Linked DNA regions of Homo sapiens: regions 2, 3 and 4 are each linked to region 1. Evidence: promoter capture Hi-C in human tissues and cell types (Jung and others, 2019). All regions are on one chromosome and are shown on one strand. Each heading gives the region's core, a stretch centred on a gene start or on the middle of the fragment in contact. The rest is flanking DNA. Distances are from core to core; before and after follow the strand shown. Region 1 holds the start of PAQR9 (progestin and adipoQ receptor family member 9). Region 2 overlaps TRPC1 (transient receptor potential cation channel subfamily C member 1). Region 3 overlaps TRPC1 (transient receptor potential cation channel subfamily C member 1). Region 4 overlaps PCOLCE2 (procollagen C-endopeptidase enhancer 2).

Region 1 (7,533 bases), core at 5,034-7,533:
ATAATCAAGTTCATAAATATTTTCAACAGACAGATATTGAATCTCAATGAAAAGGAAAATCATTATATTAAAAAACTTAAGGGAACGAGCAGCGACTTTAACTAAGAGCCAAACAGAGCCCAGTGACTGAGATGCCTTCTCCTTGATGTTAAGTAGGCAATGATATCATAGCAGAATGTTTTCTTTTGTGTATTAATCAATTACTATAATCAATATCATTGTGCTAAGTGCAAAGATCATCTAGGAAATCACAGAATCTTCTATTTGCCTCTTTGCAGTGATCTAGGGTATGGCAACCCCCTGGGGATTCACAGCTGTTATTTGTTTGGAGGAAGATGTTCTTTTAATAAATGTGCCTAATCAATGTCCAGCCATCACATTCCACATATACTGTACACATGCCTAATTTGGCATCATTATTTCTGGGGACTTTCTAACCAGATATTATTGGTTCAACTCAATAACACTTATGGCTGTGCTTTGGGCCAAGATGCAACAGGGTGTTTTTCTTATCAGTTATGTTCATTTAATTATTTACAAAGTTTTCTAACAACAATGACAACATCTTAAGATAGAAGGGGAAGCTGTGTAAGACAGTAAGTCTCTTTCCTTGAGATGGTCAAGGCTCGCTACACAACAGCTTCTCAGGAGGCAGCATCCTATAAAGAAAAGGGTAAGGGGTTTGGAATGAATAAAGTTTGACTACAGTTCTGCCACCCAAGCTGCTTAACTTCTTGAAGCCTCTGTGTTTTTTGTCTGAAAATGGGATTAGTGCATTCACCTTTCAAAGAATGTTCTAAGAATTAAGTATATGTAAAACGCCTATCACAATACCTGAATATAGTACATTATCAATAAACCAAAGCAATTATAACGAATGGGAAGAGAGTTGGACTAGATGACTTTAAGGATTAAGTGGCAGTCCTACTCTAAGATTCTAGGACTCTAAGTTCTAACCTTTTAAAAGCTTACGGTACTGAAAAAATTTCCCAGCCACAATGTGTTAAGTGCTTACTATGTGCAAAGATCTTTGTTTCAAGGAGAACTGTTGATAAATAATGGGGAGAAGAAACTCAGTAATCTAGCTCACACACTTGTATTAAGTGTTTCTCAAGTTAAATGGAAGCTATCCAAAAGGCTCTATCAAAAGCAAGCAACAGCCTATGATAAAACAAGTCTCCTCCCCAAAAGGTAACTCTGAATTACATTCAATATAGTAAGTTAATACAAGGCCTTTGTAGGAAAACAATATAGGCTCCAATCAGGAAACAGGAAGGGCAGACCTGGGAAAAACAGCTCCAGAGCAGAGACCACCATCCTAGGTCAAGGAAGCTGTAGAAGGGGCTGAAGGCCTGGGCACTTGGGCAGGTCTGGTCAGAGGTTGGGGACTGTTGGCTTACAGATGGTGACCCCAAACAGCCTTTCCAGCCATCTGAGTGGCAGGAAATGGCATCCATCTTGGATCTGGGAGAGGGGATGGAAGCAGGCTGGACAAACAAGAGCAATGGACTATCGAGAGTAGGTCAGCAGTTTGGGTCGCACATTCTTATCAGGTGAAGTGTTTTGGTTCACCCTCGTGTCCCAACATATTATTTATACATTATCTTCATAGACTACATATTAGTGCATCATAAAACCTTCACAGAGCATGTGCATGGAAAAGGATGACATCTATTTAAGCAGAAGTAATATTTTATTCTTCCCCTTCATTAGTCTTGTGAAACCACTCTAGAGACCCCAGGAAGAAAATAGGTGAATTTGCTGAGGGAGGGGAGTGTAGCATTGTCACTCCCTTCATAAAGCCTTAGAAAACCAAAAAAAAAAAACCCCCCACCCCCAAAACAAAAAGCATCCTCAAGTTTCCCTTAGCTTTTCTTCAAAACAGATGCCTGTCAGCTGGGCGCAGTGGCTCACACCTGTAATCCCAGCACTTTGGGAGGCCAAGGTGGGCGGATCACTTGAGGTCAGGAGTTCAAGACCATCCTGGCCAACATGGTAAAACCCCGTCTCTACTAAACATAAAAAAATTAGCCGGGCATGGTGGCATGCAGCTGTAATTACACTTACTAGGGAGGCTGAGGTAGGAGAATTGCTTGAACCCAGGGGGTGGAGGTTGCAGTGAGCCGAGATCATACCACTGCACTCCAGCCTGAGTGACAGGGCAAGACTCCACCTCTAAAAACAAAAAACAAAAAAACAGAGAGACATGTCTGTCACCCAGTCAGTAGCAGGCAGGAACAGTGCCAGATAACTCAGTCTCCCACTGCTCTCTCCCAGCCCTCTACCTGGCTTTCTGATTGCACTTGTCACTAGAGGTTGCTACAGTTACACCTGATACCATTAGATTTTCCACAATTAGGAAGCTTAGACTATATGACTTGGTAGTGACTATATTTGACCTGTCAGATCATGGCTGTTTTCCATTTAGGGAAAAGGGAAGCACTTTGTTTAAACTATATATATATATATATATATATATATATATATTTTTTTTTTTTTTTTTGAGACAGAGTCTTGCTCTGTTGCCCAGGCTGAAGTGCACTGGCACAATCACAGCTCACTGCAGCCCCTGCCTCCAACGTTCAAGTGATTCTCCTGCCTTAGCCTCCCAAATAGCTGGGACTACAGGTATGCACCACCATGCCTGGCTAATTTTTGTATTTTTAGTGGAGACAGGGTTTCGCCATGTTGGCCAGGCTGGTCCCGTACTGCTGACCTCAAGTGATCCACCTGCCTTGGCCTCCCAAAATGCTGGGATTACAGGCGTGAGCCATCGTGCCCAGCCTAAACTATATATTCTGAGAAGAGGGACTGAACCCTACAGAGTTCTCTCTTAATACAGAGTCTTGGGTACAATTAAGCACTAGGTCCATAGTGCTGTGCTTTTCTTTCTTCCTTTCCTTCCTTCCCTTCCTTCTTTCCTTCTTTTTTCTTTCCTTTCTCTCTCTCTCCTTCCTTCCTTCTCTCTCTCCTTCTTTCCTTTTCTTTCTCTCCTTTCTTTCCTTTCTTCTTTTCTTTTTATTTCTTTCTTTAGTTGGTTGTTTTCTGGCTAAAAATTAGACAAGAAAAAATTATTTCCTCTAAAAATAGGTATATTATTAGCCAATAACACAGCATATTTTTCTGCTGGTTTTACAGATAGCTAACTGCCCTTACTAAACAACATCAAATTTGCAGTGGCATTTTTACATATACTTAATATTATTCCTGTAGAAAGAAACAAAAACGTGTAGTTGGTCTACAAGAACATTACCAAAGCAAACCAGACTGAAAAGAGCATTCATCCCTTTTGCTACAGTTTCAACACATGACACATGACTGCATTTTGCAGCCAGGACCCCTCAACACCTGGATGTACAGAGCCTCCACTGAACTACCAACACCACATTTGTGGTCTTGATTTAACTTTAATTGATAGAACTAGCTGGCATTTGCCTCTAAATGCCAGCAGTGGCTTTCCAGTGTAACTTGGTGATTCTTGTCTGTCAAAAACTTTGCAGTCAGTCCTGGTTACCTTAGAGATGCCTTATGTCCCAATGCACCTTCAGGGAATGGCACCCTGCTCATTGCTTCTGTTTAGCCAAGTCCAGAGGATGTGAGCATGGTTCCCACTGACAAGAGACAGTTTGCTGGAGTTAAAACAAACTACAAAACTCAGCCTGTGCAGGATTTGGGGGCCACATTTTTATATCTCAATTTAAAAAGTAAGAGAAATTAATTCTATAGATTGGTAGCAATTAAGGAAAAGCCATATTGCTGTTTTACTTTATAAGTTAGGTCAGTTTTGCTGTTTCCTTAGTTCCTTTTTACTGAGCTTTGTCAAGGTATAGCAAGGACAGCTGACTGGGCTCTGCACCAGTGAACTTTCATGAACACCACTCACTCCATGGCATCAACTGGTTTTGTGCCTCAAGCAGGGTAGGGGATGTGTGAGAAAGGACAAAGGCAGATATCACAAAGACTTTTTCAAAGACTTAACATGAAACATTTTTTTTTTACTTTATAAAATACTGATTTTTTAAAAGAACATATTTTATTAGAGTCAATCTCACCATTCTTTGTCATAAAGATATTTTATCTAACTCAAGTTTTTGCATACCCATTTACAGTCAATTCCATTGTTTTGCTTGAAGTGAACTTTCTATTATATTTTTCTAGATTATGTAAGCGAGCTGATTATGCAACTAAGAGTGTGGTAAATATAAGAATTATTATAGGATCACCATTTTTACACGTGACAGCTCTGGTTGTTTGTGGAGTAACAAAGGGAATATGAAAAAAAAAAAAGTTCGGGCCTGCCCTGGATTCAAGTTTATCATTCCTACACTTGATTAAAACACCTAAATTTAATCCATTTTACAAATAGCCATGGGTCCTCAGTCCAGATATAAAAGGAAATTAGATTTCAATTTAAAACAAGCTACAAACAGTGGAAAACCAGAAAACACTAAAATAAGACACTGGCTAAATAACTACAACAAAATCTCACTTCTTAAAAATCCACGCCTAAAAAAAAAAATCCACTAGACAGGAATGTGTGGCAGTGCAGAAAGGCAGAAGACTGAAGCGCACGTTTGATCTAATTGTGTAAGAGCTTGCTAAATCAGTTACTACTTGAAAGTATACTTCAGAGAGAAGACTGAAACTTCTAGACTGTTTCTAGCATCCTTAAGTAACTGCAGACACTTATAATACTGAATGATATCCTAGTTATAAATAATTCTTATCCATAACTTAAATCCATCTTGAGGCTCTACTAAGTAAATCTTCCTTAACCTACTTAGAGGATGTGCAGTAGCGATGAAAGTAGCCTTTCTTTTCTTTTTCTTTTTTTTTTTTTTTTTGAGACGGAGTCTCGCTCTGTCGCCAGGCTGGAGTACAGTGGCGCGATCTCGGCTCACTGTAACCTCCTCCGCCTCCTGGGTTCCAGCGATTCTCCTGCCTCAGCCTCCCGAGTAGCTGGGACTACAGGCGTGCGCCACCACTCCCACATAATTTTTTGTATTTTTAGTAGAGACGGGGTTTCACCGTGTTGGCCAGGATGGTCTCAAATCTCTTGACCTCGTGATCTGTGTGCTGGGAGTACAGGCGTGAGCCACCGCGCCCGGCCTTAAGCCCCTTTCTTTAAGGCTCAAGGGCATATTTTCACACTGCAGTGCATCACAACCGTTTTCATTCTTCCAGTGTTCCTTTCTTCTGGTCTCCAGCCACCTGCCAGGTACTTCTGATTAATTACATATAAGATTTATCCAAGCCACCCCCTCCGTTTCTACCAACTGGACTTCATTCTCTTCAGTTCCTGCTAGAATGCACCTCCTACCTGAAGTCTTCCCTCATCAATGCCCTCCATGATCAGCCTTTGACTCTGGAATCCCTTAATATATTCCTCAGATCATTAGAGGTTTTCTGAGTCATCATCTGAGATTTTTCATTAAATTGTGGAGTTTGAGCAGCCAGTCCTGAGCTGTCGGACTCAGTTCCAAATAGAAGTCCTAGTTAAAGACACAAAAACAAGAAGATGGGTTAGCTGCGGCTCGAAGAGCTGGTGAGCGCGACCACAGGGCAGCTTGCGGACGGTTCTTTCGGACAGGACAAGGGCGAGGGAAACGGCAGAATGGTGACGCACCTGAGTGCGCCCACTAGACGAAAGAAGACCAACTAAGCCTTCGTGTAGTGCGTAGACAGGCCGACACACACACACACACACACACACACACACTAACACACACGCAAAGACAGTGAGGGAGCGAGAGGCGCATCCCCAGGTAGCTGACAATGACACGGCCCCGATCCGGACGCGGGCTTAAAGCCCCCCGACTTCCGGAGTGCCCCCCTCCCCGGCGACCTCCGGAGATTACCGCTGGCGCATCTCTCCGCCCTGCCCGGCTCCGGCGCCCTCCCCTCCCCCCGCAGCCGCAGCTCCCCGCCCCCCGCGAACGCGGCTCCCCAGTGTCCTCCAGAACGCCCGCGTGGCTGTCGGGTTTCGAACCCCAGGGCCGACTCTAGTACTCGGCGCGCGCGCCGCCGCGTCGCCGACCAGCCTGCGGCCCCCGCATCAATCATTAACGGGGCGGCCCGGGCTGCGGCGGCCCGAGGAGGGGGATGGTACGGAACTCGAGACAGGGGACAACTCTATCCCCCGAAGCGGCCGCGAAACCCTAGCCTGGGAGGCCCCCGCCCTTCCTCGGTGCGCCCGTCCCTCCCTCCGCGCCTCGGCTCGCACATCCCCACCTCCCGCTCCGGGGGCGGCGGCGGCGGAGGCACCCGCACCGCGCGATGCCCAGTCACCGCTGCCGCGCTGCCGCCGCAGTCAGCCGCGCCGCCGCCGCTGCCGCAGCGCGGGCGGCCGCGCGCCGGTAGCAGGGGCTTGGCGAGGAAGCCGCTGAGCCTCGCGCGCTCCGCGCTCCTGGCGGTCGCAGCGCTGCCTATTAATTGATTCTCTTATTGATTTATTTAATTTTTAGGAGCGGCTGCTCGGAGGCACGGGTCTTCTCCTAAACCTGCAGCGACGCCCCCGGCGTGGGCACAAAGGCTCCGACGGCGGCCGGCGGGGGCTGCCCAGCGCCCGGGAGCCGGCGCCAGAGGTCGCCTGCGCGCGCCCTAGCCGAGCCCCGGGCACCATGCCGCGGCGCCTGCAGCCCCGGGGCGCGGGCACAAAAGGCCCTCCGGCCCCGGCCCCGGCAGCTTCGGGGGCCGCCCGGAACTCCCACTCTGCCGCCTCCCGGGACCCCCCAGCGTCTGCCAAGCCGCTGCTGCGCTGGGACGAGGTGCCCGACGACTTCGTGGAGTGCTTCATCCTGTCGGGCTACCGGCGTCTGCCGTGCACGGCCCAGGAGTGCCTAGCCTCGGTGCTGAAGCCTACCAACGAGACGCTCAACTTCTGGACGCACTTCATCCCGCTGCTGCTGTTCCTGAGCAAGTTCTGCCGTCTGTTCTTCCTGAGCGGCGGCGACGTGCCCTTCCACCACCCGTGGCTGCTACCGTTGTGGTGCTACGCGTCGGGAGTGCTGCTGACCTTCGCCATGAGCTGCACGGCGCACGTGTTCAGCTGCCTGTCGCTGCGTCTGCGCGCCGCCTTCTTCTACCTGGACTACGCGTCCATCAGCTACTACGGCTTCGGCAGCACGGTGGCCTACTACTACTACCTGTTGCCAGGCCTCAGCTTGCTGGATGCCAGAGTCATGACTCCATACTTGCAGCAGCGCCTGGGCTGGCACGTGGACTGCACGCGCCTTATCGCCGCCTACCGCGCCCTGGTGCTGCCTGTGGCCTTCGTGCTGGCGGTGGCTTGCACTGTGGCCTGCTGCAAGAGCCGTACCGACTGGTGTACCTACCCGTTCGCGCTGCGCACCTTCGTCTTCGTCATGCCGCTCAGCATGGCCTGCCCCATTATGCTCGAGAGCTGGCTCTTCGACCTGCGTGGGGAGAACCCCACACTCTTCGTGCACTTCTACCGCCGCTACTTCTGGCTGGTGGTGGCCGCCTTCTTCAACGTGAGCAAGATCCCCGAGCGCATCCAGCCGGGTCTTTTCG
Region 2 (7,533 bases), core at 1,264-3,763, 230 kb after region 1:
TTTAATCTATGGCCTTAAACTCCCTGCCTCACACATACAACTTCTTTTGAAGGAAGCTGGGTGATAGTTTTCTTGACAATGTATTTCCTTAGGTCCCTCAAGAAGAAAACTAGTCACAAAAAGAAATATTTTCCCCATAGTACTAGTAGTTAATAGTTAGACACAAATGCTCCCTGGGAAAACCTTATCAGACAGACACTTCACAAAGTGATACTCTAAGTCACAAGTTGAACCAATAGTGACCAAAGATAGACCAGTGAAAATTTATCGCTATTACTGGAAAGTGACATTTAAAATCTTATTTCAGGTGACTCTATTTCAACATCTTAGTAGTAGAATGCTACACATAAAAATTCTGCTATACTTTGTTATCGTGATGTGTCCAGGTGAAAAGTAATTTTTTATTTATTCTGCTTAGGACTCATTAGGCTTTCAATTTTTTTTTTTATTTTTATTTTTTATAGAGATGAGGTCTCGCTATGTTGCCCAGGCTTGTCTCAAATTCCTGGCCTCAAGCAATCCTCTCGCCTCGGCCTCCAAAAGTGCTGGGATTATAGGCATGAGCCACCACATCTGGCCTAGGCTTTCTAAATCTAAGGACTTCTACCCTTCATTAATTCTTCAGTATTTTCAGCCATTCTCTCTTCAAATATTGCTTCATCTCCATATTGCTTTTTCTCTTGTCAACTTCCATTAGACATTAAGTTAGACCTTCCCATTTCAACATCTGTGTCTCTCAAGATTTCCTGTTTTTTCTTTTTTTCCTCTCTCTTTCCTGCATTCTGGGTAATTTCTTCACATATTTCTTCCACTCACTTATTTCTCCTTTAGCTTCCATTCACATTCCTCCTTTAACCCATTCACTGATTTCTTAAAAATTTAATGACTGTATTTTTTATTTGCATAAGTTTTACCAGATTTCTTTCCAACTCTCTTATTTTCTTATGTTTTCATTTCCTTATTTTAACTTTCTCATCATTTTAAACATAATTATTTTGTAGTCGCTGTATGACAGTTTAATTATCTGAAAGTAGTATTAATTTGAACCCCAAGACAACAAGAGGCAGGACCATGGTTATGTATTCTTAAAGGAGTCTTATTTTTAGCCTTATTCAGAGCCCACAATAACACAAACAAGCTTCTTTGAAGTCTCCATGTGCTGGTAGATTGGTTTTTCTCCTCATCTACCTCTTTGCTGAAGGTACAGTCCTTTAAGAATCCTGGTTTTATGCTTAGATGTTGAATCCAACTCCTCACTTTGTACAGTCTCCAGGCCTTGTAACCTGTTCTCATATGGGCATTAAGACTCAAATCCCTGCAATGCCCAGAACAGTAACTCTTATCCCCACCCATGGAGCAGCCATAGTGTCAGCTCACAAACTCCTGTTTTTCAGTTTTTTCTTCACTTTTGTATCTTGGTTGTTTCCCCTACTTTCTTGAAAGCTCAGCTGTTCATTTAACTGGATGTTCATTATATTTTAGCTATAATTTCTAGGTGATTTGAAGAAGAAAGGTTTTCAGATTATCTAATCAACCATATTGCTAGAGACAGAAACGTAGGAAGAGCTACACAAATAAATCCTTATGACATTTTATAAATTTCAGGTATAGCAAATAGACAAAAATAACTGCTACATGTTTAAAAGTTTAGATTGCTGTTAAAAAGGAAAGTACATTACAAATATCATATATTCCAGCTTTAAAGTTTTTGTTTTGTTTTTAAGACAGAGACTCACTCTGTCACCCAGGCTGGAGGAGTACAATGGCACCATTTGGCTCACTGCAACCTCTGCCTCCTGGGTTCAAGCGATTCTCCTGCCTCAGCCTCCTGAGTAGCTGGGATTACAGGCAGCTGCCACCACGCCCGGCTAATTTTTGTATTTTTAGTAGAGATGTGGTTTCACCATGTTGGCTAGCCTGGTCTCGAACTCCTGACCTCAAGTGATCTGCCCGCCTTGGCCTCCCAAAGTGCTGAGATTACAGTCATAAGCCACCGTGCCCAGCCCTAAGGTTTTAAAGATTATTTCTATTGTAGTCAAGGAGCTATACAAGAAAGAAAGAAAATCCCTAAAAATCAAAACCAAATAAATAATTTTCATCCCTAAAAATAAAAGGTTCCACCCTGCTACAGCTAACACAGTCATGCAAATGAAAAATCACATTATAGTCACAGAACCTACAGGAAACCTAGAGTGGTTGCTAAGCATTTCAGAGAAGTTTATATTTGCAATTCATTTAAAACAATGCACTATGTCAAAAAAAAAAAAAGACCAGAACACTCTTAATTTTTAGGATGAGTATATATGTAAAAAGAGGTCAGAAAACTTAAAATAGACAGCAAGTAGCTAGTTATAGAACAAGGATTACAATTCAAAATGCCTGTGTATGACAGACAAATATATAAATGCCATTCATTTTATAACGAAGTTGCTTTCAAGAGTTACATCTTTTGTCTTTTAAAATATAACACATAGAAGGAAGTGCAACATAATCTGTTTACTTTTTTGGCTAGATGGTAGTCTTTTTCAGTCAAGGAAAAAGAAACCATTTTCAATCAATTCCACAGGGAGTATACCAATTCAACAGCACGTCTTCTTAGCCCCCTCTCTAAAATATCTCCCATAATCATCTACTTGTCTCCATGTATACTGCTACCCACAGTCCAAACCCCCATGATCTTCCTCCTGGACTCTGCAATAGCCTCTTAACTAACACAGCTGCTGACCAAGATTCTCTCCTTAACCAAACTCTAGTCAGGCTTTTCTGAGCCCTTCTCCACAAGGCCTCCACCTTGGCCCATATAAACTTGAACAAAACACTTAAGTGTTTCTAACAGCTGAAGGCCGGATCCCTAGGATGACCCTAGCCCCTCTTAAAATGCCTGCCCGAGAAAACTCAAAGCTGACATAAAAATTTACTTTTGTTCCAGCCAACACCTGAAGACAGGGCCCCTATCTCTCAGCCTCCAGGGAGGGTAGGAGCCTAACTCCTTAAGTGCCTTTAGCAAACTCAGGTGGGATTCACATGGACCAACTCCCCAAGCCCCGTATTTTGTAATTTTTCACTTCCCTGACTCCACTGAGCCCACACTCACCCCCTTCCTTGTTTACTCTTTTCCCTATTGCAACTTATATTACTTACTAATACTTTATACTGTAGCACAGGGGTCAACAAAGTTTTCTGAAAAAGGGTTAGAGAGTAAATATTTTAAGCTTTGTGGGCCATGCACTCTCAGTCACAGCTACTCAACTCTGCCCTTTCAACACAAAAGCAGCCACAGACCATATGTAAACAAATGATAGTGGATGTGTTCTAAGAAAATTTTGTTTATGGACACTGAAATTTGAATTTTATAGACTTTTCATGTGTTACGAAATTTTTTTTAACCATTTGAAATATAAAATGTAAAAAACCAGTTTTAGCTCCAAGACCTCACAGAACAGGCAGATATGGTCTGTGGCCCATAGTTTGCTCACTCCTGCTCTAGCCCCACCCCTTCAATCCACTCTGCACTCCACAGCTAGAGTTATCGGTTAAAAATTCAAAACACAAGCCGGGCGCGGTGGCTCATGCCTGTAATCCCAGCACTTTGGGAGGCTGAGGCAGGCGGATCATGAGGTCAGGAGATGGAGACCATCTTGGCTAACACAGTGAAACCCCGCCTCTACTAAAAATACAAAAAATTAGCCGGGCATGGTGGGGGGCACCTGTAGTCCCAGCTACTTGGGAGGCTGAGGCAGGAGAATGGCGTGAACGTGGGAGGCGGAGCTTGCAGTGAACCGAGATCACGCCACTGCACTCTAGCCTGGGCGACAGAGCGAGACTCGGTCTCAAAAAAAAAAAAAAAAAAAAAAAAAAAATCAAAACATATCAAGCTTACAAACTTTGTGATTTTTCTATCACACTTAAAATAAAGGCCAAATTTCTACTGTGGCCTACAAAGCCCTATAGGACTTAGTTAGACCTTGTTAACATTCTGAATTCATCTTGTGCCTCTCTGCGGCTCAGCCAATGATCATTCCAAACCAATGTTTTCCAAACTGCAGGTTGCAACCCATTAACAGTCATAAAATCAATTTAGTGAGTCCTAACCAGCAATTTAAAAAAAATGAACTAGTATACAAAATACCAGAGTGATCCCATAGATCCTTAGCAACAAATTTACTCTGGCCAACTGTAATAAACCCTTGAGAAATACAATGGAGAAATGTTACAATACTGATTAAGAACAGGTGATTCCACCTCTTCCTCATTAGCATCTCGTTTGATTTTATGGCAAAGAGAGTATCAATGTTGTTCAGTTTAATTTTATATTAACCAAATTTGAAGTTAGTTGTGAAGTGTGAGAGAATTTAATGTCAAAAAATTTGTAAAGCTTTTCAAACCAAGTTTCTGTAACAAACCTGAGTGTGGCAATTGCAACATTCTAACTGAAATATTACCAATGATGCTTAAAACAGAAAGTTTTATTAAGAGGAAAAAGAATGATGATGTGAAAAAATAAAAAGACATGATCAAGTTCAGTTGCTGGATCTGGAAATATAAATGACAATACTGATAAAAATGTTAACTGACATCAAACTTCAAATTAGCTTGAACCAAATTTTAAAAAGGAAAAAAAAAAAAAACCCATGCAGACTTTTTACAGTGAAAATGATTTAAAATGTAGCTTTATCAAATGTGCAAAACTCGTATTACAGACCCCAATGTATTTATAACCATATTATTGTAAATGAAACCTTCAAAATTAAAGATACTAAAAAACATGGTAGGCTAAACTGTTTATAACACTTTGAACATTTTTGTAAAAAGACAATTATTACCATAATTTCTTAGTTGCTTATGAATCTTAATGAGGACCATTAATAATAATGAATATCATTTGGCAAAAGAGCAAAGATTCACACTGCTGCCTGAAAAAATTACACTATAGCACAGAAGGTAATGCTGATTTTTTCATAGTAAATCAGTTGATAAAAATTATAAACAGCATATTCTTAACTCTATTAGAAAAATAGTCAAAAGCAATGTTTATTTTGTAGTTAGAGTCTGATAAATGACATGAGATCCCATTCACAATGCTGCTGTAAGTTGTTTAAAACTTAGTTTATATCAGGTTGTTGCAACACAGTCTCAGAAAGGATTTATTGTGTTGCTTAAATTTAATCTCATATACATTTGAATTATACATATTTATAAAACTAGAAAAATATATTACTGGCCAATATGTTAATCTAGAAAAACATATGTTTAAAAATTAACAGAAGCTATTAATAACAGTGCCAGTCACCCCCACTTTATACATAACAAAGCTTTGGCATCCAAAGAAATCTACTGAGTCTCATGACTATATTGATACAGTGCTGGAATTCTTTTAGTCCTTATCATTCATCTAGGCTCCTAAAAGTCATTAGTTAATCACATCTTAGTGATAACTTTTGAAATCCTCATTACCTATTCAACTATTGATCTTAAATCTTAAATTTCTCAGTATCATTAAATTTGGAAGAGTTAGCAATGAAGAAGATATTTAGAGCACTGGCAGCAAGGTAGAAGAGGAATTATTAGGTTACGATAATACCTATATAATAAAATTTAATCTTTTCACACTCTTCCTCCAAGTCTATATACAAGGTATAGCTAGGAGTCTGGCTTGGGTTACATTTTTTTTAACTGCCCAGATAAAAGACTGACCCTGTACACGTAATATCCCATTCTCCAAATCACATATAGGCCATTTAAGTTAAATTGAGCACTTGCTTCTTCCCTTCAGACAGATATATTTAATACAAACATACTTTTGTTTCCTTACTTCTCCTCGCTAGAGCACAAGAGAGCATCTCCATTAAAGAATATTCTCCTAAAGGATAGGGATGTACTCAGTACTTTCTTGATAAAGCACTTTCACAGTGCCTTAACACAATTAACAGCTTGATAAGTATAGTTTGATTGTGACTTACAGAAAAAGAGCAGCAAAGTTGCGTGATCACTATAAAGAATTACCAGTATCATAGAACTACCAGGCAGCTAGCTGCTGAATTACTAGTCTGTTAGAGATAAATTATCCACTAAGATTTTCGCAATTTGAGTCTTTCGTTGCTGTTGTTAAAGTATCCCTGAACCGTTCGCCATGGCAATGTTTTTCAACTATTACATTGTAAAACTTTGGTTATTTGAAAAGCTTTCCTATATAAAGTACATAAATGCTATGTCTATGATGATTTGTGAAGTGTTTATAGAATGCTGCCTACAATACCCTCTTTACCTCTCATTTCTGCAAAGTTTTTTCCTCACAGCACATACCTCCTTACATTAGGTGCCCCATTGTCAACATAACACTTCACACCAATACTCAGTACTCTGCATTTTTTGTTTCTTCCCACCACCATCCTCTCTAATACCAGACTTCAAAATCTCTTCTCAAATAAGTAAAAAAATTTTAAAGGCCCATTATATATAAATAAGGTGTTTAAAAAACAGCAGCTTAATATTACTTCTCTCAGAAATGCTGCACTTTTTTCTTCTGACTCTGGCTTCTCTCTGGAGTTGTTGCACATTTTTAAAGCATCCTTAGCCCAAAGGTACACAAAGCTTATGGAGAAAGTCAGTCATCAGGCCAGGCACGGTGGCCCACGCCTATAATCCCAGCACTTTGGGAAGCCGAGGCGGGTGGATCACTCGAGGTCGGGAGTTTGAGACCAGCCTGGCCAACATGGTGAAACCCTGTCTCTACTAAAAATACAAAAAAATTAGCCGGGCGTGGTGGTGGGCACCTGTAATCCCAGCCACTCAGGAGGCTGAGGCTGAGGCCGGAGAATCGCTGGAACCCGGGAGGCGGAGGTTGCACTGCACTCCAGCCTGTGCAACAAGAGAAACTCCATCTCAAAAAAAAAAAAAAAGAAATACAGTCATCAAAACATTTTTCCTTACAACACAGCAAATCTTACCACAAAGGTGACACAGGACACTGAGACTAGGCTGAGCCCACTGATAAAGGTGAAAACCTGCTCTCTCCATCCCTCCCCCTAACCCCATGCTGAAATTTCAAGAAGGGGCTTCTAACTCATTTACCGCACATCAGATTTCCTGAAAATACTCTCCATGGAGAGTTGGCAGGGACTGAATCATTTCATACTTTCTTTCCTCCACATGAACTGATTAATGATCATCAGCAAATCAAACAGTTTATGCAGGTTTATATTTACAAATATATACTAAAAGCTACCATCTACTCAACAAGTTTTTTTTTTTTAGAGGAAAATTAACATGAACTACACTTAGTTTAGGTGTTTTCTAAATAAACTTATTTACCCTTTCTCCTGTTAACAGACCTGAGGGACACCATAGGTGCCTACAAATAAAAGAGGCTCATTATGACACTAATTCTCAATGAGAGAGGACAAAGCCATGGCTGTAAGAATCACTACTTAATTTTTCATAAAACAACATATTTATAGTCAGCTCTTGTTTCAATTAAGTTTTACCTCTGAATTTATATAGCTTTCTATCTCTAGAAAGAACATGAGTATACTT
Region 3 (7,533 bases), core at 2,200-4,699, 160 kb after region 1:
TGACCGTCGATCTGATAACAGAGAATGATGCTAAGTGATTCAGTGGTGGATAGTGTATACTGTGAATATGCTGAACAAAGGGATGATTCACGCCCAGGCAGGATGGCATGAGATTTCATCATGTGACTCAGAACAACAGTGAACAACTTAGAACTTAAGAACTGTCTGAGCATGGAGGCTAACACTTGTAATCCCAGCAATTTGGGAGGCTGAGGCAGGAGGATTGCTTGAGACCAGGAGTTCGAGGCTGCAGTGAGCTATGATCATGCCACTGCAGAGTGAGCCTGGGCAAAGAGACACTCTGTCTCTAAAAAATAAAAAAAACTTCAAGAATTATTTCTGGAATTTTTCATTCAATATTTTTAGATTATGATTGACTGTGGGTAACTGAAACCATGGAAAGTGAAACTGCAGATAGATAAAGGGGGACTACTGTATATCTCAACTTTTTAAAATTGGTAATACAATGAACAGACTCCATTTATAATCTAATGTCAAATTTTATTCACCTTTTTTTTTCTTACAATATGCTGTCATTCAAAATGTACCTCAGAAGCAACTCAACTCATGCATACAGTAGGCACTCTATAAATGTTTTAATAATTAGGTGTTTTTTAGAATGACTAAAAATCCAGATGTAAAATCCCAATTGGGAAGTGCATAATCCCATCGTAGACAAAATATATAACTTTACAATAAACATTTTTATAAGAATTTGCCCCAAAGAGGGAACACTTAAAATTTGGAAATTAAAAAATAAAAATGCAAAAGCAAGATGAAACAAACAATAGTAACCTATTTAGACAATGATCCCTGGATCGGTGGTGCTTACAGACCAAGGGTTACCTGCACCCTGTGGCGTAAGACCATCTGACATTCGGTTAAGAAGAGAATTATATACCTAATATCCTCTTAACTGGAAATGCTGCGAGAATATATAATAGCCTATGAAAACATTTTAGCTACATCCCTTTATGTGAACACACCAAAAATTTAAATACATATTTTATTCTCTAATTTTAAAAAACCAATGCTTTTCATCTTAAGCAGCAAGAATGATCCACAAGTAAGCATGAAGTCACTTTTATAGAAGCTGTGTTAAATTATGGAAAGTACCTTGGGAGATAAGCTCAAGAACCTTAGTCCAAATATAAAACAAATCATTGCATTAAAGAGACTTCCTATGTTTTACAAAAACAAAACAGGTTGTGACTACATGTGATAAAAAAGTGTCTCCTATCTATCTTAAAACTAAAAACATTCACTCCAACTTGAAAAAAAAATAGGACTATTATGATACAAAAAAATTAAAACAAACCAAATGTCGAGAAGTAGCTATGCAAACTTATAAACATAACTGAATAGCTAAAAAATAAAACATCTACTGACTGTATTTTTCAAAAACTATATAATTCTATAAAAATTTAAATGTGGACTAACTACATCAATACATGGAAATGTATATATAAAATATTAAGTGAAAAAAACATTAAAAATATAAAGTGATTATAACCATGTAAAAGTAAATATATTACAATAACAAAAACTGAAGTGAATTTAAATTGAAAGACATAAATAGATTCAAATATTAGGGTTTTTTCTTTGTTGCTTAAGATTATAACAAAATACAAAAGAAAAAATAGACTATTATTTTAGATAAAATAAAATTATACTCCTAAACAATAAATGCTGAACTATATGTGAACTCCTAAAACAGAGATATTTAAAACATAACTTCTATATTTCAAGTGTATCCTGTGAAGGAGATCAGCCTACATTTGCTGGTCTTCATTTTACAAAACATTCTGGGCAATGTGTCCATTTATAACTGCCCCTCTTAAACATAAAAAAAAACATTTTAAAGCACTAAGTAAGAAAACCAAGCAGCATGCTAACAAAATCTATCTACTTAATCTGTTTTGCTTCTGCAAAAAGCCACTAACAGAAGGTTTAAAAAACTAATTCTATATACACACTTTACATAACATATATTTATGCTATAAATATTTTAAAGAATGGCTTTTACATAATTCTTTATTTCAATATATATCTCATTAATTTCATTGCAAGTTATGCAATATAGTCTTTTGGATCTGTTATTGAAAATTATTCGCTCCATGATTTAGAAAATGGTTAATTTCTTGGATAAAACATAGCATATTTAGAAGTCCGAAAGCCAAGTAAATCCCTTATTTCATTTCGGAATTTTGACAGATCTTGGCGCAGTTCGTTTAGATTTTCCACAGTTGCCTGATCTGTACTTTGCATCTTCTGTCTCATGGAAGTCAAGTAACGATGCACTAGGCAGCACATCACTTTTTGATAGTTTTCATCTCTCTTCTGTTTCAAATTCCTCCATTCCTTCAAAACAACAATATGATACTAAGGATATGCAGAAACGATATTTAAATGAGGTAGAGTTCAAAAATATATTCACAGACACAAACACATCTTTAAATGCTTTATTAGACTATAGTTTTTCTACTACATGGTATAATATTCAACACTTGTTTAAAACAAATATAGCCTGCATATTTGTTTAATGAATTTAATTTTATGCTTATCTTGATTGAAAAAAATTAGTCTTAGGAATCCTTAGTTTATAGCAGGGATTGGCAAACTACAACCCACAAGCCAAATATGGTCCATATCCTGACTTTACAGCCTGTGAGCTAAGAATAGATTTTACAGATGAACATTTATCATCAATTGATAATAACACTAATTTTAAACTCTAGTTAAGTGAAATTTTATCCCCTCCCAAAAGGAACTCCATTCTTTTCACTAGTAGACCTATATTTAAAAAGTTATTACTGTTATTGTTATATTTTGACTTTTATCAATAAAAGTTTTGTGAAAATTTGTTTTCTCTCTTACTGTATCACTGCTTACAATATCTCTGATTTTGTCTCAGCCTGAAAAGTGTAAAGTATTTACTATCTGGACCTTTACAGAAAAAATGTCCCAACCCCTGGTTTATAGTAACATATATTGAATTATTGATGTATTGAATAACTTTCAAGAAGAACCAGAAAAATATGAGCTGATTCTAGTAGTCATTCTTTAGCTACAGTGACAGAATGGGTATTTTGAATATTTCCCATGTTTTAAAACTATGAGATGAAATTTTATATATTGGAGGAATCTGAAAAGTAAAAAAAAAAATCTCAGTACTATCTCCCATTCTTAATAATTATATGTGTGTGTGTGTGTGTGTGTGTGTGTGTGTGTGTGTGTGTATATATATATTTGTTTGTTTGTTTGTTCTGAGGTGGAGTCTCGCTCTGTCACCCAAGCTGGAGTGCAGTAGCATGATCCTGGCTCACTGCAACCTCCACCTCCTGGGTTCAAGCAATTCTCCTGCCTCAGCCTCCTGAGTAGCTGGGACTACAGGCATGTGCCACCACACTCAGCTAGTTTTTGTGTTTTTAGTAGAGATGGGGTTTCACCAGGCTGGTCTCAAACTCCTGACCTCAAGTGATGATGTGCTTGCCTCAGCCTCCCAAAGTGCTGGGATTACAAGCGTGAGCCACCGCACCCAGCCCTCTCACTCTCAATAGTATTTATTGAATCCTTACTTTATGTTGGATGCGATGCCGTACATTAGGGTATATAGCAGTGAAAAAAAGTCAGACAGTCACAGCCCTTAGGGAACCTGCATACTTACGCTTTAAGAAATATCTGAGATTAGGAATTGTTAAAACTTTTATGTTGCCATTCAAGCTTCTAATTTCTTACCTTTAAACTGTTTTGCCGTTTGACCTTGCCTTTTGATGTATGAGAGCAAATCCACTTACTGAGGCTACTAATCATATAGCAGATAGTCTTTGGTGAGGGAATGATGTTGAAAGGTGGAGGTAACGTACATTTGTCATCAAAGTAGCTAAGCCATAATTTTGCTCGAGCAAACTTCCATTCTTTGTCTTCATGATTCTATATAAAAGGCAAATTAAAAAGCAAACTAGAATATTAATACACACACAAATATGGGGGATGTTTCCACACCTTGCAGAAAAATTTTGTTCAACATTTGCAATTATTATACATTACTTACATTTTAAAAATCTATATTTAATTTAAAAATACTATTTTTCAATTCTTATAATCTTATAATCTTTGGCTATCTTATCTATTGTATGCACTTAGTATGGTCTGAGGAGAATATAAAGTTTTTAAAAGAATGAACTTACTGCTATCAACTGAAAGCTTTTATGAAGCATTGCCACCAGCAGTTTGGTAAGCACAATCACAACCACGACATTGTATGTACCAACAATGACAGCTCCCACAAAGGACTGCAGTTCTTCTCCATAGCTAAATCTTGTGACAAAGATTGCCACATGCGCTAAGGAGAAAATATACCAGAACAAAGCAAAGCAGGTGCCAATGAACCTGTAAAGACAATTGCATTTCTGTTTAAAAGGCAATTAAAGAAATTAGCAAAAATGAATCATTTGTTTATATCAAAATTATTTAAATAAAACATTGATAATCCATGAAAAGTTCCTTATTTAAAAATGATGTTGACTTCCACAGTACTGATATGCCTTACTTTAAATTTAAACAAAGAGACCCTAAGGAAGATAAATTATTTGTAACTGTTTAACCCCTTGCTGCCTTTCTTTCTGTTCTCAACAAGGCAGCCTATATGATTTGTTAACATCTAATTAGATTTTGTCACACCTCTGCTCAAAACCTTCAAATGACTCTCAATCTCAACAACTCAAAATCCTTACAAGGGCAAAAAAGTCCTACATGATCCCCATTACCCTTCTGACTTCATTTCTGTCTGTTCTCAACAAGGCAGCCTATATGATTTGCTAATATCTAATTGGATTTTGTCACACCTCTGCTCAAAACCTTCAAATAACTCTCAATCTCAATAACTCAAAATCCTTACAAGGGCAAAAAAGTCCTACATGATCCCCATTACCTTTCTGACTTCATTTCCTACAACTCCCCCTCTGATTCAACACATTCCATCCACACTGGCTGCCTGGCTTTTTCTTGAACATACCAGTCATGCTCCTACCTCTGGACACTTGCCTTTGCCGTTCTCTCTCTCTGTAAATGCTCTTCCCCCAGAAATGTTCTTCGTGGCTTGCTCCTTTACCAGCTTTAGATCCTCACATGAATGTCATCTCTTCTGGGGCACTCCCTAGCTCCTTAGTTAAAACTGAACTCTGACACACAGACACTCTTTTGCTCATGCTTTATTTGTCTTTGTAGCCCTGACCACTGTGTAACATACTGAATATTTTACTCCTCTTTTTATTGCCTGTATCACCTCCCTAGAATGTAAGCTTCATCAGGGTAGTTTTGTTTACTAATACTTCATTTGCTCAGCACTTAGAACATTGGCTGGTATATAGTAAGTGGTACACTGACACATACTCATTAATCTTATTCTTTACATAAGATGACACACAAAATAACTAAAGAATAGTTGACACATAATAAGAACATGACAAATGTGTCCTTCCACAACTCTTCTCCATTGTTTTATTTAAAAATGACGGGAGGAATTTTGTTTACCTCAAAACAGGTTATTCAAATCCTTATGATACATTAGAGAAAAAAATGTTCATGAAGTTCTAATGATTCTCAATTCTAATGACCTCTTAAAAAGTGTTGAAGCTGTGAGCGTTTTTGGCTGTAACAATGACTGAGAGTTGCTACTGACATTTAATACCTGAAGGACAGAGATGCTGAACATCTTGCAATACATAGGAATGACAAAGAATTGCTCAAAATGCTAAGAACACACAAAATGCCAAGAATTCCTCTGTTAAGATAGACTGCAGTAGGGAAGACAAGGTAATAACTTGGACCCACTATTTAAGATGCTGTATGTAAAGATGACTATAGTGATTCATGAAAAATAAGTATTTATTAAAGTTTATGAACATTACTAAGGAATTTCTTAAAATGTGAAGTTCCATTTCTATAGATACTAATTCATATAGAAGATGGTAAAAAAAAAAAAGACAAATATATTTACTAAAACATTTAAAAGATACTCACGAATGGAAGGTATCATTGCTTTGCTGTTCACAGAAGATGCCTACACAGTCCTTCTGCTCCTTTGAAGTATATCCTTTATCATACAGTTGTGTCAGTCCAATTGTGAAAGAAAACAAAACAAGAAGAAACATCCCAAGAAATTTTCCAAAATCTTGTAACATCTGTCCCATTGAAATCTGTGGAATATATTACACAGGTGTTCATTAAGATTATCAGAAAAACAAAATATTAAATATAAATGACCCAGCAACAAAAGGAAGAAGACAAACACATAATCCACAGGCCACCCCTTCTATTGCATCTGGTTGAGACAGATCATTTTAAAAACATCGAAAATCCAGCTGCCTAACAAAAAGTCATTCTAATCATACCAACACTATCAGTGTTAGATGGCACGTTCCTAGAACCTGGATCAGGGTTTCAGAGGACATTGTTGTTATGGAGATAGAGGCAGAGATATGGAGATTTAAGAAAAGGCCTAATTTGCAAGGGATAAAAGGAAAATACCCTGCTCAAACTTAAAGAGAAATAAATGCTTATATTTACATGGCTTCTTAAATTTTACAAACATAAAATCATTATGAGGCAAAGTATTTCACCTGATTTTTGAAACCAATTCTAAACCAATTCCTAAAATCAGCATTTCCTCCTATGGGACTGCCCTAATTTCTTTTGCTGAAGTGATAGATTTTCTTTCCCTTTGGGTCCATTTTAAGAAAATATTATGTGTGCAAGCCAAATGAGGGTGTCCAGTATTAGTAGTGAGTATCTTTTGTAGTTTAGACATGTATAGTGCATATGGAAGCTTTAATCCTAATTTCATTCTTCAAAATTTAGAGATTAGGTACTTTTCATAAATTCTTGGTTTTTAAATTGGCATGCAAATTTGGGGAATAATGTGATAGTACTTTTTTGACCCAGCAATTCTATCCCTAGAAATTTAACCAATAGATAGGAAGTACACAAAGATGCATGTATATACAAGGATTTACATTGCAACATTGTTAGAGGTAGCAAAAAAATTTTAGAAAATCCTCAATATTGTTTTTATTTTTTATTTTTTAATATTTTTTGGGGGGGACTTTCCCGCAAGAACCGGAAAGCCTGCTAGACAAATTCTAAAAGAGCTGTAACATTACTCAACATTGTTTTTAAAAAGAATGAAGAACATCTACATGTGCTAGCATACAAAGATGGCTGTAAGACAGTAAATCCAAAAAGCAGGGTATAAAACAGTATGTATATGTAGAACGGCCCCCATTTCTATTTTGTTAAAGGATAGACAAGATACATATTTTAATATAGATATGCTTTAATATGCATAGGAAGTTTCTGGAAGTTTACATAAGAAATTGTTAACCATGTTTATCTATGGAAGGGCATATATCTAAGGGTATAGTAGGGAGACTTTTTTTTTTTTTTCTTTCTTTTTAAGACAGTCTCTATCTCCCAGGCTGGAATGCAGTGGTGTGATCTCAGCTTACTACAAACCTCCGCCTCCCAAGTTCA
Region 4 (7,533 bases), core at 3,407-5,906, 140 kb after region 1:
ACCTGCTTATGTTGATGGGAGTAACTAGCAAAGAAGAAGGCAATGGCAGACAGAAGGAATAAACTGAGAAGGAAAGTTTCTATAAAGGTGAGAGGGGCTGGCTCCAGAGGACTCACAGAAGGCATGACTTCAGGTCGGAGGGGGGTGACCCCTCTCTCAGAGGAGGAAAAGAAGAGAGATGGTATAAAGATGACTTGGAGGTTTGGTGGGGATCTTGAGAACATTTTCTGCTATGCTTCTCTTCTTCCTAGAAAATAGGCAGGGTCGGCTAGGTGCGGTGGCTTACACCTGTAATCCCAGAACTTTGGGAGGCCGAGGCGGGTGGATCATGAGGTCAGGAGATCGAGACCATCTTGGCTAACACGGTGAAACCCCGCCTCTACTAAAAAAATACAAAAAAATTAGCCGGGCGTGGTGGTGGGCACCTGTAGTCCCAGCTACTCGGGAGGCTGAGGCAGGAGAATGGCGTGGACCCAGGATGCGGAGTTTGCAGTGAGCCGACATCGCGCCACTGCACTCCAGCCTGGGCGACAGAGTGAGACTCTGTCTCAAAAAGAAAAAAAAAAAGGCAAGGTCACCTCTGAGAGGGAGAAGGGAGTGGCAGCACGGGAGGTTAGGAGAATGAGAAAGAATTTGAAAAACAGCTGTAGAAATTGGAGAGTAGGCTGAACTCCAGCCTGTCACTCTGCTGAAGGCCCATTTGTGTACTCAGTTGTCTGAGGGCAGGCACAGGAAAAACAGATTTCTCTGAAGATTCATACAGGGCTGAAGGGCAGAGGGGAAGGGACCTTAAGGCATTGTGTAGAAAATGATTGAAATAATGGACCATGGAAATGAAATAGAATTGCTAAGGAAGTAAAGACAGGCCAGGGCTGACGGGTTGGGAAAAATGAGAGCAGCCAATATATTGAACCATCAAAGATGGAAGAAAACATAGTCATAGAGTGATTAAATAAATAAGCTTGGAGGGGAGAACGCTGTCCTGGTTGCCAGCAGGTCTAAATTTGATAGACTGGCAATGAACAGCCATAGCATGAAGACATCCGAGCCTGGAACTGAGTGTCTAGGAAAGTCCCTGGTGAAGATGAGGCCACGGGGACTGCGGGATCAGACATGGGAGGGTGGACCCATAGAAACGATCGCGGGAACACAGCCAGGGAGGGCTGAGAACCGGGACCAGCTTTGTGAGTGAAGGGCAAGGAGACAGATGACAGTTAAGATGAGGAGGGGAAGGAGAGAGCCAGTGACTTGCAGGCCAGACAGCAGGCCCCACCAAAGCAGGAGAAGGGCATGTTGGACACCCACCCCACTTCCAGACTGACCTTCGGAGGCTGAGAAGCAGCCGGTTCCCAATGGGCCCGGGAAAGGGCGCTCACCATCAGACACACCACAACTTTTTGACTCAGTTAACTGAGTAAATTTAATTCCATAAATTTACAGCTGAAGTGAGGTTCCCAACTTCTGGAACAATGGTATGTCTCTCCCTTCCAAACATCTTCTGAGCTCTTTCTCTCCCTTTTTTAAAAATGCATATTTAAGCTATTATATGTATTTTAACATTAAATTACATATGTTTTAATATTGCCATCTGCTTCAGATTCTTTCTGGAGTTAACTAGGGGGTACAGATTAAGAGTATATAAATAGGCTGGGCGCGGTGGCTTACACCTGTAATCCCAGCACTTTCAGAGGCCGAGACAGGCAAATCACCTGAGGTCAGGAGTTTGAGACCAGCCTGGCCAACATGGCGAAATGAAATCTCTACTAAAAATACAAAAATTGGCCAGGCATCTGTAGTCCCAGCTACTCAGGAGGCTGAGGCAGGAGAATTGCTTGAACCCGGGAGGTGGAGCTTGCAGTGAGCCAAGATCACACCATTGTACTCCAGCCTGGGCGACAGAGCGAGAGACTCCATGTCAAAAATAAATAAATAGATAAATAATAAATTAACAGAGGAGTTGGTGGGGCCTGTTGGAAGAGCAATATTACAACTGTGGATATTCACCCAACAAGGGCAATTCTGTTACCGTGGTTCTGTTTAGTTCTTCCTAGCATATTGTCACACAGAAACAAATAATTAGCAAGTATTTCTGAAACATTCTTAAGATGATTATGAGGATGAACTATTTTCACGTTGTTAACCCGGGGTTTCTCTACCTCAGCACTATTTATATTTTGGGCCAGATCCTTCTGTGTTGCGGGGACTGTCCTTTTTTCTGTGGGATGTCAGCAGCGTCTCGGCATCTACCCACTAGATGCTAGCAATACCCTCTAGTTGTGATAACCAGAAATGTTTCTAGATATTGCCAAATGCCTGCTGGGGGCAACGTCACCCGTACTTAAGAACTGCTGTGTTTTGTCTATTTGGTATACTTTTAAATTTGTCTACTTCTTAGTTCTTAAGATTCTTATAGCCAGTGCCAGGCTCAAAATAAATATTTAGTGATGGGTTGCATCTAATTACAGATGTAACACACTTTACACATGAACAGTATTTCTAAAAACCTATGCTACTCATGTTTAGGCAATTGCATATTTTAAGGATGTCCTCAGGGGAACACCCTATGATTCCTTTTGTAAAGTGAGGGATTAACCTACATTCTGTGAGTTCCAATTTGTTGTTCTGGGTTTTTCTAAACAGGGCACACACTCAGAGTACGCCTGTATTTTCTTATAGTGTTTGTTTTATATAAAGGAAGAAGAGAACAGGGCTACATTTGTGCTATCTTTGAACTCAGGTTTAAAATTCAATAGAGGGTATTGAGTTGTCCTGGTGAAATTAGAGCAGTAGTTGGTAGCATGGAGAATTTATTTTGCGTGGTTTTAAATTTTTTCTTTGTAGTGATAGATTGGTGGCTCAGGGAAATAAATGATAATTTTAAATGGGTAGATTCAGAACTAAAGACCAATTATGCTTGAATTCATTTTTCGTGAAACTTATGTCTTCTTTGAATTAAGGTTTAAAACCCACCGTGGCCTTGTGTCAACAAAAGTGTAGACGGACGGGGACTCTGGAGGGCAATTATTGTTCAAGTGACTTTGGTAAGAAATAAAAGCCAGTCTTTTTCTCTTTAACCAGAAACTTGAGGCTGCATGCTTAATCTCAAAGGAATTCCTATGAATTTATGGTGAAGGGTCAATAACGCTGCTCATTTATCCAAGAAAATACTTGCCTATACACCAGAATGGTCAAATTGTTAGATTTCACCACTGAGAAAAATATGGATTTAGAAAATATACTTTTTTCATATAAGCTTAATAATTTGACTCTTGGTACATGATACTGCCACATTGTGTGTTCTGGCTGACTATTCCTGCAAAAAACCTATGTACTTTTTTCCTTATATATTTTTCATATACAGAGTATTTTTTCACACATCTATAACTCAACTTAAGTAAATTAGAAACATACCCGAGCTTATATTCAGAAGCTGGTCTCTCTCAGAAGAAATTCAAGTATTTCCCCTGTACTGCCTTTCTGAGGTACTGAAGTAAAAGTTGGAAATCTGGAGTCCATTTGGAAACTCTCACAAACTGGAACCTGAGGAGGTGTTCTTTAATGATTTAGAATTTTTAAGAGCTTTTTCCAGTGGAAAGATTGCACCATCTATGATAGCTACTTAAGAGCAAAAGATACAACATTTTATCTTGGTTATTTTTTCAGTGGCTTTAAAGGAACATTTAAGACAAATCTGATCAGGAAGAGCAAGTTGCTATGGCCTAAATACATTTCCCCAAACAAAACTTCCCCAGAGAGGCTCTGCTTGCTTTTTCTGTGCCTTGAAGTGACTTCTGTAGTCCAGACGAGCTGTATCATAGTGAAGGTGTGAAGACACTGAAGACTCTGGGACCCTAAACCTTACTAGAGTTCACATGCTGAAATTCAAATAACTGGCATAAATGTGAAAACAACGCCACATGTAATTGCTACCACATCCAGTTTACTCTTCTGTAGGAGGTGCTTCAGGAAGTCTCCCTCCCTGTGTCTTGGGAGCCACTGATTTCACTTGACTATAGACTGAATTTTGGAGTGAACACTTATCACGCAGGATCAAAGTAAAGCATCATAGGAATTCTGATTTTATGAACATTGCACACTGCCTAAGCAGTGAGTGTTCACTTTATTCTGAAGGAGTCAGATTAACCAAGTCCAAAACTTGATTTATTCCATTAATGTGACCGCTTACATGGCAAAATGACCAAAACTATCATCAGTCACTGGTTCTCAACCAGGGCTGATAATGCTCCCCTGGGGAGTGGTAGAGATGTTAGATTACTGCATTTTTTTGGTTGTCACAATAACTAGGAACTGCTACTGATTTTTCTAGGAAGGACAAGGCTGGTAAAAAATGTATTCAGGCCAGGTTCAGTGGCTCACACCTGTAATCCCAGTACTTTGGAGGCCGAGGCAGGTGGATCACCTGAGGTTGGGAGTTCGAGACCAGCCTGACAAACATGGAGAAACCCCATCTCTACTAAAAATACAAAATTAGCTGGGTGTGGTGGTGCATGCCTGTAATCCCAGCTACTTGGGAGGCTGAGGCAGGAGAATTGCTTGAACCTGGGAGGTGGAGGTTGCAGTGAGCTGAGATTGTGCCACTGCAGTCCAGCCTGGGCAACAAGAGCGAAACTCCATCTCATGAAAAAACAACAACAACAAAAAAAAACTGTATTCAGTGCAAGTCCTACACCACAAGGAACTGTCCTTGCTCAAGCCCCCAGAATGCCAGGCGCACCCCCGTGAGAAAGACAACATCTTTCCTTCTGTGGCTTCAAAGAGAGACTCTTTTCTCGGAGTGTCATGATGGAAAAAACAGGGGTTTACATAATGAAAAAATCAACTGAATTTTACTAGAGGTTTTTTTTTAAGAAAAAAAAAAGTTTAAGTTAATACCTCAGTTCTATACTTCAGCTTGTTAAATGAAATAAACGGAGTGGATAAGAAAGAGAATATGAAAGACCGTAGAAGACAGAGCTTTCCTGATAATTAGACAGAGGTGAGGACCCAGGGAATGAACAAAAGTTCAGGAAGAAAGGACAGCTACAGAGAAGGGTGAGGAGAGACACAGAAAGGTGGCTACACACCCACACCGACACAAAGACTCACATCTTAGTGGCCCAAACCCCCATCGCGCAATCTTTTAGCGTGGTACTGCCTCTAAAGATACAAGATCTTTTTGAGTATTCACAGGTAGAGCCTCATAAGCCAGACTATCCCCTATGTGACAATCAAGCCACAAGTTGGATAAAACGTTTTAAAGAGTTTCAACCTTGGCAATGGACCGCAGTGTGGCAAGTATTTAGGCTTCTCTTCTAGTTATCAATCCCCAACAACCAGCGTAACATCACAGCTCCAACCTGAATTTTGGTGACAAATGTACAGAAGCAAATGTGAAACCTCTATGAGGGCCTTTTCTTTAACATTAAAATGTTTCGTATCTGAAACTTAGAAGAATGTAAACTTGTTTTTCAGTTCTGCTTGCATTTGCCTTCACTGTCACATCACTTCAAAATGTTTTCTTCTGCAGTATTAGCCGGCACTGTTATCACAACCATCACTCGCGATGGGAGTTTGCACGCCACAGTCTCGATCATCAACATCTACAAAGAGGGAAATTTGGCGATTCAGCAGGCGGGCAAGAACATGAGTGCCAGGCTGACTGTCGTCTGCAAGCAGTGCCCTCTCCTCAGAAGAGGTGAGTAGGGAGAAAACTGGGTGTCTCTGAGCAAGCCATGGATTTTCCATGCCATGGTTGGTCTAGGGAAGTAAAATCAGGGCTAATATGTTGCCCACTTCTTGCAGAGCAGGAAGGCCTTTGGAGTCAGGCAGAATTGGGCTCTCATCCAAGTCCTTGTAACTTGTGGCAGAAGAAGGGGTAGTGGACATGATGAACAAGTGAAAGAAGCGTTTGAAGTTGAGTCAATAGGCAACAGACACACAGAGCAGTGCAGGGTGGAGAGATTTTAGACTATTGCACTTAAGATGCCAGTACTGTCTAGGTTTAAAGAAAAATATCCAGCAGCCAACAGGAAATGCAGACCCGAAGTTCAGAAGAGGGAGGTATATCCGGGCTAGAATCAAGATCTGGGAATCATTTGCAGAGATAGGACTATTAAGTCCATGGATGGGAGTGAGTTTATTGAAAGAAATTACGAAAAACGGAAAGTTACTCCAGAGCTAGAGGCACATGACTTTTTAAGAATATGTATTTAACAACTTATAAAAGTAACATATGTTTCATGGTTTTTAAAAAGTTGAAATAAGTAGGTAAGAGTATGTTTAAAAGTGAAACCCTTTTCCTTTCCTTAGAAGTACTCTAAAAAGTTCCTTCCAGCCAGACACAGTAGCTCATGCCTGTAATCCCAGCACTTTGGGAGGCCGAGGTGGGAGGATTGCTTGAGCCCAGAAGTTCGAGATCAGGCTGGGTGATGTAGTGAGACCCTATTTCTATAAAAAAAAAAAAAATTTAAGTTCCTTCCAGAAAGTTTCTATCCACATAAAGCATGGGCATATACACTTATGGAATCATATCACACACAAGTTCTGCAATTTTTCCCCTACATAAGCTCTAACATCTTTCCACACATACACACAGAGAGAGAGAGAGAGAAAGAGAGAGAAAGATACAGAATATCCACTTCAAGAAAGCTTTACTGTCCCAGCACTTTAGGAGGCTGAGATGGGAGGATTGCTTCAGCCTGAGTTCGAGACCAGCCTGGGCAACATAGTGAGACCTCTGCTCTACTAAAAATAAAAAAATTTAGCCGGGTGTGGTGGTGCGCACCTGTGGTCCCAGCTACTCGTGAGGCTGAAGCAAGAGGATGCCTTGAACCTAAGAGGTCGAGTCTGCAGTGAGTCATGATCACACTGCTGCACTCCAGCCTGGGTGGCAGAGCAAGACTGTCTAAAAAAAGAAAAAAATTTAAAAATAAAGCAAGCTTTACTGTGAATTCAGATTGTTCAGAAAAGTCAGGAGGCTAGTAGCCTCATGTTGAGTCTCTGGAGAGAATCACAAAGGCTCTGTAAAAGAGAAACATTTCTTTCCAGAACTGCCAGGAGCAGCAGATACTGCACCTCAAGATTCTATAAGGTCTCATAATGCTGCTAGCACTTCAGCCTTGAGGCAGCATTACCTGCCCAGACTCTCAGGCTCTCACAGACCACTGTGATGACAAGGTCCACCCACACAGGAAAATGCAAGAGAAAAAGGACACATTTTCTCTATGACACACCAGGGGAAAGGGGAACTAAAGGAGGAATTAACCCATACCTTTTTTTCTGATTTATTTCTGAGGTAATATAAATATTCAGAGTTACCCAACACCTCAGGCCCCAGTCTAGGCCTAACTTAGCCAGTCACACCAATGTATAAAAACATAGTATAACCAATATAAGTACTCTTGACACCGATGTTTTGCAAGAAACTGTACAAATGCAAGTAGTATATGATCCATCTATGCCCTCAAGAAGCTTGCGTAGCATACATGTTTGAGATGTTGATTAAAGTTCAAGACAACAGCAACATAAGAGAGT

Evidence for each region. The method cuts DNA at HindIII sites, captures the fragments that hold promoters and counts their contacts. A contact is called where the count stands out against the background at its distance.
Region 2: a contact is called between a fragment that was not itself captured here and the fragment with the promoter of PAQR9 in region 1, in 1 of the 25 tissues and cell types used here (mesendoderm cells).
Region 3: a contact is called between a fragment that was not itself captured here and the fragment with the promoter of PAQR9 in region 1, in 2 of the 25 tissues and cell types used here (H1 embryonic stem cells and hippocampus).
Region 4: a contact is called between a fragment that was not itself captured here and the fragment with the promoter of PAQR9 in region 1, in 3 of the 25 tissues and cell types used here (hippocampus, lymphoblastoid cells and spleen).

Annotation. Positions count from the first base shown.
Region 1 is chr3:142,962,424-142,969,956 of GRCh38, reverse strand. PAQR9 (progestin and adipoQ receptor family member 9) reads left to right here and starts at 6,283. Exons shown (of 1, transcript NM_198504.4): 1 at 6,283-7,533. The coding sequence starts at 6,621. It overlaps PAQR9-AS1 (PAQR9 antisense RNA 1), which reads right to left and starts at 5,899. Exons shown (of 5, transcript NR_125393.1): 1 at 5,859-5,899; 2 at 5,321-5,492. RefSeq lists a silencer at 7,069-7,254. The HindIII fragment of the contact is 8,480 bases long and covers 1,666-7,533 here.
Region 2 is chr3:142,727,702-142,735,234 of GRCh38, reverse strand. The region is part of intron 1 of TRPC1 (transient receptor potential cation channel subfamily C member 1); the gene reads right to left. Among named protein-coding and RNA genes, the nearest start is that of TRPC1, 7.4 kb to the right of the region's middle. The HindIII fragment of the contact is 4,663 bases long and covers 182-4,844 here.
Region 3 is chr3:142,800,836-142,808,368 of GRCh38, reverse strand. TRPC1 (transient receptor potential cation channel subfamily C member 1) reads right to left here. Exons shown (of 13, transcript NM_001251845.2): 10 at 6,025-6,200; 11 at 4,191-4,392; 12 at 3,739-3,933; 13 at 481-2,361. The coding sequence ends at 2,134. It also overlaps the pseudogene RNU7-47P. Among named protein-coding and RNA genes, the nearest start is that of TRPC1, 81 kb to the right of the region's middle. RefSeq lists an enhancer at 1-242. The HindIII fragment of the contact is 5,234 bases long and covers 833-6,066 here.
Region 4 is chr3:142,819,040-142,826,572 of GRCh38, reverse strand. It overlaps PCOLCE2 (procollagen C-endopeptidase enhancer 2), which reads left to right. Exons shown (of 9, transcript NM_013363.4): 7 at 2,958-3,041; 8 at 5,528-5,695. Among named protein-coding and RNA genes, the nearest start is that of PCOLCE2, 66 kb to the left of the region's middle. The HindIII fragment of the contact is 5,097 bases long and covers 2,108-7,204 here.